Regions from separate parts of the Homo sapiens genome. Here regions 1 and 2 are each linked to region 3. Evidence: promoter capture Hi-C in 16 types of primary human blood cells and fetal thymus (Javierre and others, 2016). All regions are on one chromosome and are shown on one strand. The core of a region is centred on a gene start or on the middle of the fragment in contact, and the rest is flanking DNA. Distances in the headings are between cores, read along the strand shown. Region 1 holds the start of LRRC23 (leucine rich repeat containing 23). Region 2 overlaps LOC105369632 (a long non-coding RNA gene). Region 3 holds the start of C1RL-AS1 (C1RL antisense RNA 1).

The links. Contacts are between HindIII fragments. The CHiCAGO score rates a contact against its expected background, and 5 or more counts as called.
Region 1: the fragment with the promoter of LRRC23 here is called in contact with the fragment with the promoter of C1RL-AS1 in region 3 in 17 of 17 cell types (total CD4 T cells, naive CD8 T cells, fetal thymus and 14 more); the score reaches 36.6 in total CD4 T cells.
Region 2: a fragment that was not itself captured here is called in contact with the fragment with the promoter of C1RL-AS1 in region 3 in 4 of 17 cell types (naive B cells, naive CD4 T cells, activated CD4 T cells and 1 more); the score reaches 6.9 in naive B cells.

Annotation. Positions count from the first base shown.
Region 1 is chr12:6,903,190-6,906,071 of GRCh38, forward strand. It overlaps LRRC23 (leucine rich repeat containing 23), which reads left to right and starts at 1,633. Exons shown (of 8, transcript NM_001135217.2): 1 at 1,633-1,886; 2 at 2,396-2,570; 3 at 2,656-2,765. The coding sequence starts at 2,445. The HindIII fragment of the contact is 20,869 bases long and covers 1-2,882 here.
Region 2 is chr12:6,884,186-6,886,885 of GRCh38, forward strand. The region is part of intron 1 of LOC105369632 (a long non-coding RNA gene); the gene reads right to left. It also overlaps the pseudogene RPL13P5 and the pseudogene DSTNP2. Among named protein-coding and RNA genes, the nearest start is that of SPSB2, 12 kb to the left of the region's middle. RefSeq lists enhancers at 1-322, 1,969-2,516. The HindIII fragment of the contact is 559 bases long and covers 972-1,530 here.
Region 3 is chr12:7,106,925-7,109,687 of GRCh38, forward strand. It overlaps C1RL-AS1 (C1RL antisense RNA 1), which reads left to right and starts at 1,384. Exons shown (of 12, transcript NR_026947.1): 1 at 1,384-1,557; 2 at 1,749-2,023. C1RL (complement C1r subcomponent like) reads right to left here and starts at 2,290. Exons shown (of 6, transcript NM_016546.4): 1 at 2,186-2,290; 2 at 1,327-1,555. The coding sequence starts at 2,256. RefSeq lists enhancers at 1,310-2,509, 1,342-1,511, 2,152-2,231. The HindIII fragment of the contact is 2,026 bases long and covers 822-2,763 here.

The sequences.
Region 1 (2,882 bases), core at 383-2,882, 200 kb before region 3:
CGGAAGGACTGCTTGAGCCCAGGAGGTGGACGTTGCAGTGAGCTATGATTGCTCCACCGCACTCCATCCTGGGCGACAGAGGGAAACTCTATTTCAAAACAAAAATAAAAACAAAATAACAAAAGTGTATGTTCAAGGACACCTTCCTAACCCTTACATCACAACTTTTCTTCCCATCTAATGTGTCTTCCTCTTTCTTCTTGGCCAAGGAAACTCATATCCATTTCTTTTGACTACATCAAACCACATGGATTTTTCCCTTCTCCACACTCCAACAATACAATAACTTTCATTTGTATAGCACATCTCACTCTTCAGAGTGTTCATATTTATTATTTCTTTTTCCTCACAGCAACCCCAGTACCAAGGACACAGGCCAGGGGTGGGGAGGAGCAGGAAAATGTTTACTAAGGGTCAACTAAGTGCAAGGCGATTTACCCACATTATCTCTTTTAATCCCTTAACAATCCTTACAGGTGGACGTTTTAATAATCCCCATTTCACGACTGTGGAAATTAGACCTCAGTAAGATTTCATAACCTGCTGAAGGACACACAGGTATTAAGTAGTAGAGATGGGTTTTGAAGCTGGTGTCTCTGACTTTAAAGTCCCTACTGGTTCCATGACACCAAGTAAACAGATTTGCCTATTAACCACATTCCTCCAAGCTGCCCTGGGCAGGAGGTAATATAATACTTCCTGATTTCTTGCCCACCACATCTTCCACCAGACCACTTTGCCGTTATATAAAGTCTGTGGGCACAATTTAACAATGAATCACATGCCATCTTACCTGGTTACCTCATTGTTTCATTTACATTAGATTCCACAACAAGATTGGTAACATCCCCCTTTCCCCAGGCAGGAATTGTGTCATCTTAACCTCCCTGAGCCTCAGTATCCTCTTCTTTCAAATGTCTATCTTACAGGACTGTTGCAGAGATTAAATATCAGTTGTAAAGATGTTTGACATAATGTCTCGCACAAACTCTCCAGAAATATTTATTGCATCTCAACATCTTTTTCATCTCCTTCAACATGTCAGACAGGCCTGAGTGCCTGGGTTTGGCTATGCCAGTTCCTGTTGATTACTGATATAACAACGTTGGATCAGGAGTATTTTAGTGGGCAGATGTTGAATTTTCTGCCTTCCACCCACTAAAAGGTTTGCATCAAACCAGTCCAGGATAACTCATACTGGATCCCTGTCAGTTGATATAGTTAAGCTAATTCTACAGATAACAAAGAGTCTTGGGTACGTTTAGCTAGCAAATGCAGATCTGCCAAGACTCCAACCCAGTTCTTAAGGTATCTGGGTCTGGACTCCTTCCGCTCCACCAAGCCACCTTCCAAAGGTCTACCTGAAAATAACTAATGAGCAGAAACTATAGGGGGAAGGGGAAAAGACCCCTTATCTTGGTGTTTCTTGCTTTTCCTCGCAGCCCCGCCCTTTTTGCTTCGAAGGACGAGTTTTTCCTGAATTCACAATACTTTTGCATTGAAGATGTCCGGTCCCTTTAAGGTCTTGGGTGACGTAATGACTAGCCCCGCCCCCTCTCTTCTCGCTTCTCAGCCCTGCCCACTTCTTTTTGTCCTCAGCCAATTAGCGGCCCAACGCCCCTTCCGCGCCTCATCCGGGTTCCCGGGACGGGAAAGTGGCGTGGTAACCAGGCAACTACTGATCAATCCCCTCCCCGGCTGATTTGCGCATCAGGTAGTCGCCGCTCTACTCTCAACGGTGGCGAGCTGCAGTTGCCAAGTGCCCCGTCCCCGTTGCCATAACAGCAGTACACAACCCCTCCTTCCCCTCGCCCGCTTGCTAAACAGTCCTTCCCTCTCGGGACCAAGGGCCTCTCCAGAACTGCTTCTGATTGAGCAGAAACAGGGTCTGAGCCCCTTTGCTAAGGCGAATTGAGTGGGAGGGTTGGAGACTGCGCTTTAGGCTGGTGTACCAGAGGGCCCAAGGAAATTGGCCCAGTGGGGAGGGAAAAGTAGAAGAAATGAATGGAGCAGGGATTACGGATGGCGCAATGGGAGCTGAGAGGAGAGGAGGAGGAATTGGTAGGGAAGATTGGAGAGCATGGCTTAAGGGGGAGGTGGGAAGAATGGGGGAGAGGGAAGCCCAGGAAATAGGGACACCCGGCTGCTGGAGGAGAGCTGGAGTCACTGTGAAGGACAGGAAAGGCCTGGGGGTGTGGGTGACATCCTGAAGGGAGGGGGTCCTCAGTGGAAAGTGTGAAGTGGGAGTTGAGAATCAAAATGAGATGTTCACAGGGATAAGGAAAGAAGCCTAGAGTTGGTGGGTCAGAAGTCATGGGGGTGATGGGAGTGGCACGTGTCAATGACGATGAAGGAGCTGAAGGCTGGCAGAAGCTGATGAGACCTTCTTTTTCAGGAGGAGGACTGAGCTTATCTGACTCCAGAGCTTTCAGGAGGGAAGAAAGATGTCAGATGAAGATGATCTAGAAGACTCTGAGCCAGACCAGGATGATTCTGAGAAAGAAGAGGACGAGAAGGAGACAGAGGAGGGGGAGGACTACAGAAAAGAGGGGGAAGAGTTCCCTGAGGAAGTGAGAGCCTGGACAAGGAGGGGTCCTAGGGCTGAAGGAGGGGGTTGGGCAGGGGAGAGACACCTTACTCCACTTCTACCTGCAGTGGCTGCCCACCCCCCTCACGGAGGACATGATGAAGGAAGGGCTTTCTCTGCTCTGTAAGACAGGCAATGGGCTGGCTCATGCTTATGTCAAGCTGGAGGTTAAAGAGAGGTGCGTTTTGGGGGGACCAGATGAGGACTGTGAGACTGTAGGGCCCCTATCTCCTTTCCCACTGTCATTCCTGGGTGTTCTGGTTGAGAGTTTGACTCTTCTCATGCCTAGTGGAAA
Region 2 (2,700 bases), core at 1-2,500, 220 kb before region 3:
TACAAAGCACAAGCTGGCAGGGGCCTCAGCTTGGAGGAGTTAAGGGTGGCTGGCATTTACAAGAAGGTGGCCCAGACCATTGGCATCTCTGAGGATGCAAGGAGGAGGAACCAGTCCACCCAGGCCCTGCAGGCCAAGGTGCAGAGGCTGAAGGAGGACCGCTCCTCACTCATCCTCTTCCCCAGGAAGCCCTTGGCCCCCAAGAAGGGAGACAGTTCTGCTGAAGAACTCGAACTGGATACTCAGCTGACAGGACCAGAAATGCCCATCGGCAATGTCTACAAGGAGAAAGCCAGAGTCATCGCTGACTAGGAGGAAAACTTCCAGGCCTTGTTAGTCTCTGTATGGCCCATGCAAATGCCCAGCTCTTCGGCATATAGGCACAAAGAGCCAAGGAAGCTGTAGAAGAGGACGCTTAAAAAAAAAAAAAACGGGTAGGCTCGAGCCGCTGCATCAGCTTCGCGCTGGGTCTCTCGGTCCCGCAGCCATGAGGAGGACGCTGCCCAGACTCACTACCCGCCCTCTCAGTCCCGCAGCCACGAGGAGGACGCTGCCCAGACTCACTACCCGCCGGCTCCCTCCCCCGCGTCCCTGTGGTGGTGGGCGAAGATGACCTGTTGTGCATCAGATGCCTTTGAGACATACAACTGGAGATGTGAGATAGGAAATTGAATGTAAAGACTGGAAGCTCGGCAGAGCAGAACTCTGAACAACGTGCCTCAGGAGTGCAAGTTGCTGATGAAGTGTGTCGCATTTTTTATGACATGAGAGTTCGTAAATGCTCCACACCAGAAGAAATCAAGAAAAGAACAAAGGCTGTCATTTTTTTGTCTCAGTGCAGACAAAAAGTGCATCATGTAGAAGGCAAAGAGATCTTGGTTGGAGATGTTGGTGTAACTATAAGTGAGCCTTTCAAGCATTTTGTGGGAATGCTTCCTGAAAAAGATTGTTGCTATGCTTTGTATGATGCAAGCTTTGAAACAAAAGAATCCAGAAGAATTGATGTTTTCTTGTGGGCATCAGAACTAGCACCTTTGAAAAGTAAAATGATCTATACAAGCTCCAAGGATGCAATCAAAAAGAAATTTCAAGGCATAAAACATGAATGGCAAACAAACGGACCAGAAGATCTCAATCGGGCTTGTACTGCTGAAAAGTTAGGTGGATCCTTTTTTTTTTTTTTTGAGATGGAGTCTTGATCTGTCGCCCAGGCTGGAGTGCAGTGACAGGATCTCGGCTCACTGCAACCTCTGCCTCCCGGGTTCAAGTGATTTTCCTGCCCAGCCTCCTGAGTAGCTGGGATTATAGCGTGCGCCACCACACCTGGCTAATTTTTGTATTCTTAGTAGAGTCAGGGTTTCACCATATTGGTCAGGCTGGTCTCGAACTCCTGACCTCGTGATTTGCCCTCCTTGGCCTCCCAAAGTGCTGGGATTACAGGCGTGAGCCAGCATGCCTGGCCAGTGGATCCTTAATTGTAGCCTTTGAAGGATGCCCTGTGTAGATCATCATTCAGTGCCACAAATTGAAAGCTTCCACGTTTAATGTTATCCTCTTGCTATATAAATAAAGCAAATATATTTAGGCCAGGGTCTCACTGAGGGGAGCTGTCTTGTCATCTTTTAGAGTAAACTAAATACTCTATAAACATATGCAAACAGCCCTAAATATATCTGTAGGGGTGGGTTGCCCCTCCACACCTGTGGGTGTTTCTCGTAAGGTGGGACGAGAGACTTGGGAAAGAAAAAGACACAAAGTATAGAGAAAGAAATAAGGGGACCCGGGGAAGCAGCGTTCAGCATATGGAGGATCCTGCCAGCCTCTGAGTTCCCTTAGTATTTATTAATCATTTGTGGGTGTTTCTCGAAGAGGGGGATGTGTCAGGGTCACAAGACAATTGTGGGGAGAGGGTCAGCAGACAAACACGTGAACAAAGGTCTTTGCATCATAGACAATGTAAAGGATTAAGTGCTGTGCTTTTAGATATGCATACACATAAACATCTCAATGCTTTACAAAGCAGTATTGCTGCCCGCAGGTCCCACCTCCAGCCCTAAGGCGGTTTTTCCCTATCTCAGTAGATGGAGCATACAATCGGGTTTTATACCAAGACATTCCATTGCCCAGGGACAGGCAGGTGACAGATGCCTTCCTCTTGTCTCAACTGCAAGAGGCATTCCTTCCTCTTTTACTAATCCTCCTCAGCACAGAACCTTTACGGGTGTCGGGATGGGGGATGGTCAGGTCTTTCCCTTCCCACGAGGCCATATTTCAGACTATCATATGGGGAGAAACCTTGGACAATACCTGGCTTTCCTAGGCAGAGGTCCCTGCGGACTTCCGCAGTGTTTGTGTCCCTGGGTACTTGAGATTAGGGAGTGGTGATGACTCTTAAGGAGCATGCTGCCTTCAAGCATCTGTTTAACAAAGCACATCTTGCACCGCCCTTAATCCATTTAACTCTGAGTTGACACAGCACATGTTTCAGAGAGCACGGGGTTGGGGGTAAGGTTATAGATTAACAGAATCTCAAGGCAGAAGAATTTTTCTTAGTACAGAACAAAATGGAGTCTCCTATGTCTACTTCTTTCTACACAGACACAGTAACAATCTGATCTCTTTTGCTTTTCCCCACATATATCTAAAGTCTAAAGTTGTTTTTTTAAAAAAAAAAAAGAAAAGAAAAGAAAAGAAAAAAGA
Region 3 (2,763 bases), core at 134-2,633:
AGGGGAAATGTGGGTGGTGAAGACTGAAGACAGATAAAGCTAGTCCTTATCTTCTATACTGTAGTTGAGCATTAATAGAAAATACGTAAAAATGAAAGACAAATAAGCATGTTATTTATACATATGAAGTTAAAGACCAGATGAAACAGCTACATGAATTGGCAAATGACTGCTCCTGAGGAGCAGCACTCAGGGGCGGGGAGGAACAGCTTGGAGACTGCTGTTATTCATAAACCTTTTTAAAAACCTTTTTTTTTTTTTGGAGACAGGGTCTCACTCTGTCACCCAGGCTGGAGTACGGTGTCATGATCAGAGCTCACTGCAGCCTCTACCTTCCAGGCTCAAGTGATCCTCTCACTTCAGCGTCCCTTGTAGCTGGGACCACAGGTGCGTGCCACCACACTTGGCTAATTTTTAAATTTTTTTGTAGAGATGGGGTCTTGCTATGTTGCCCAGGCTGGTCTCAAATTCCTGGGCTCAAGTGCTTCTTTCGCCTCAGCCTCCCAAAGTGCTGGGACTACAGACATGAGCTACTGCGCCCAGCCTTAGAAAACTTTAATTAAAAAACAAAAAGTCTTACAACTATTATGTATCCATAATAATTAAAAATTTTAAAATTAAAAAATAAAGTTCAAAAATTTATGTCATTTTGATATAAATAAAATTTAAATCAAAAGATAATGTGCTCTTTTTATTTTTATTTATTATTTACTTATTTTTGAGATGGGGTCTTGCTATGTTGCTTAGGCTGGCCTTGAACCCTGGGCTCCAGCCCTCTGATCCTCCAGCCTCAGTCTCCTGACTATACTGCTGGGACTGCAAGCTTGCATCACTCCATCAAGTACTGTTTTTAAAATGTCCTTATTCTGAATAAGGCTTTGGCGTTAGAAGTTTTGTAATAGCTCTTCCAAGGTAAGTGTGAACGGTGACTTAATCTTTTGTTATTATTTGTGTCCAGCTTCCTCACCTGATAGAGCAGGCACTCAACAAATACATGATGACATATTTTTAACAACCAATATGTGCGTCCCTGCCCCTGGCTCCATAGATTTGCAAGATTTGTGTGTCCATTCATAAGCCTTCCAAACGCAGGGCCTGCTTGCTGCCCTCTTTGCTCTGTGGGGCCCAGATGGCAGCCCCGGAGGCGCTGGTGGGAGGCTGTGTCCTGGGGTCCACCACTGCTCCCCGGTAAGCCAAGCCCGACTGCCCCTACATGGAAAATTCATCCCTCCTCCAGATGGGGGATTCAGGGCACCGCCACTTCCCACAACCCCGGGAATCTCCCTGGCCACAGTCCTGGCGGGACCCCCCCCATCCCCAGCTCACTGTGACAGAGTCCCCTGCACAGTCCTGGGACGGCTCCAGGTCGAAGTCCTGGAAGACGAGCCTCACAGCAAAGCCCTCTGGAGCCTTGATGTCCGTGCTGCTCTCTTGGCCTTTGCCATACGGCTCTGGGTACCCGGGGGATGTCAGCTGCTGGGGTAGCTCTTGGGCCAAGAGGACGGAGCCCCGGGTTGGGCAAGCCTGGAGGACTCCCCAGAGAAGCAGCCACCACCTGTGAGTTGGGGGGAGGGCAAGGTGGGGCCGCGCAGCTATGGCCGGAAGCCTGTGGGTGTGGGAGGAGCGGGGGAGCCGCGCTAGGACTCAGAGGCCTCGCGAGGCAGGGCTAGAAGCTGTGGCCTCACCCTTGAGGCCCGGGCACTTCCCGTCTCCTCCCTTGCTCCCCTTCCTCACCCCAATCCCTACAGCCTCCCGCGCAGCCTGAGCTCTAGGATTGTGGGTTTTCCATCCTCCGAAGACATCACCTTTGCTCATCTCCCAGGAGAGTCTCGTCCAAAGGAGGGGGGTGCTTTCTGCTTCAGCAGATCCCACCCCACCCTGGGATCCGAGGGAGCAATGGTGGGGCGAGTGAGGGTCTGCCGTAAATATCCCCCGACCACCCTCTGGGAAGGTGCTAGAGGCCACAGGCAAATTTCAGTCTCCCCATGGAATATCTGCTGTGCTGCTGCTGCTGCTGCTGCTGGTGTGTGTATGTGGGGGAGGTGTGTGTGTGTGTGTGTGTGTGGGGGGGGGGGGGATGTGTGTGTGGGGGGGGTAGGGTGGGGGGAGGGAGGGTTTGCGGCCACCCACCCTTTCTCTTCCCCTCCCGTCCTCTTCCCTCCTCCTCTGCCGGGGCCACACTCACATTGCGCCTGGACAGCCTTTGGAGTGAGGGCTTCTCCAGAGATATTTCCCCCACACTCTGGGTCCAGGCATCTGGAACTGGACATCTGGGACCTGCGAGAGAACTGGCCCAGGATAGGGAACAAAAGGTGAAGGCCGGTGGGGGAGGAGGAAGTTCCTGGAAATGTTAAGCAACTCCACAGTTCCCCTTCTCCAATTCTCCGGGCTGAGCGCCACCTGCCGTCTGACTCAGGAACAGCGGGCCCGCCGCAGCTTAGGGGAGAAACGTCCAAAAACCTCGCTGGCCCTCAGAGGTCAGGGTGGCAGGGCACTGACTCGACCCTTTTGTACTATTTAACATTAATTTTTGCCATGTGTGTAGGATGGCTCCTTGTGAGTTATGGCTGCTGCCTTCAATCAGCCATGTCTCTTCCTCCCCGACCTTTCCGTTCACGACATACCCGGGGAGCCTCCCTCTTGTAGAATTGAAGTTTGTGATCCTTGAACTTGAGCTTTCTCTTCCTTTCCCTCCTCCCCAAGCAGGGGTGGGGGACATGCGCTTAGGTGGTCTTTTGAATCCTATTCACAACCTCTGGAGGC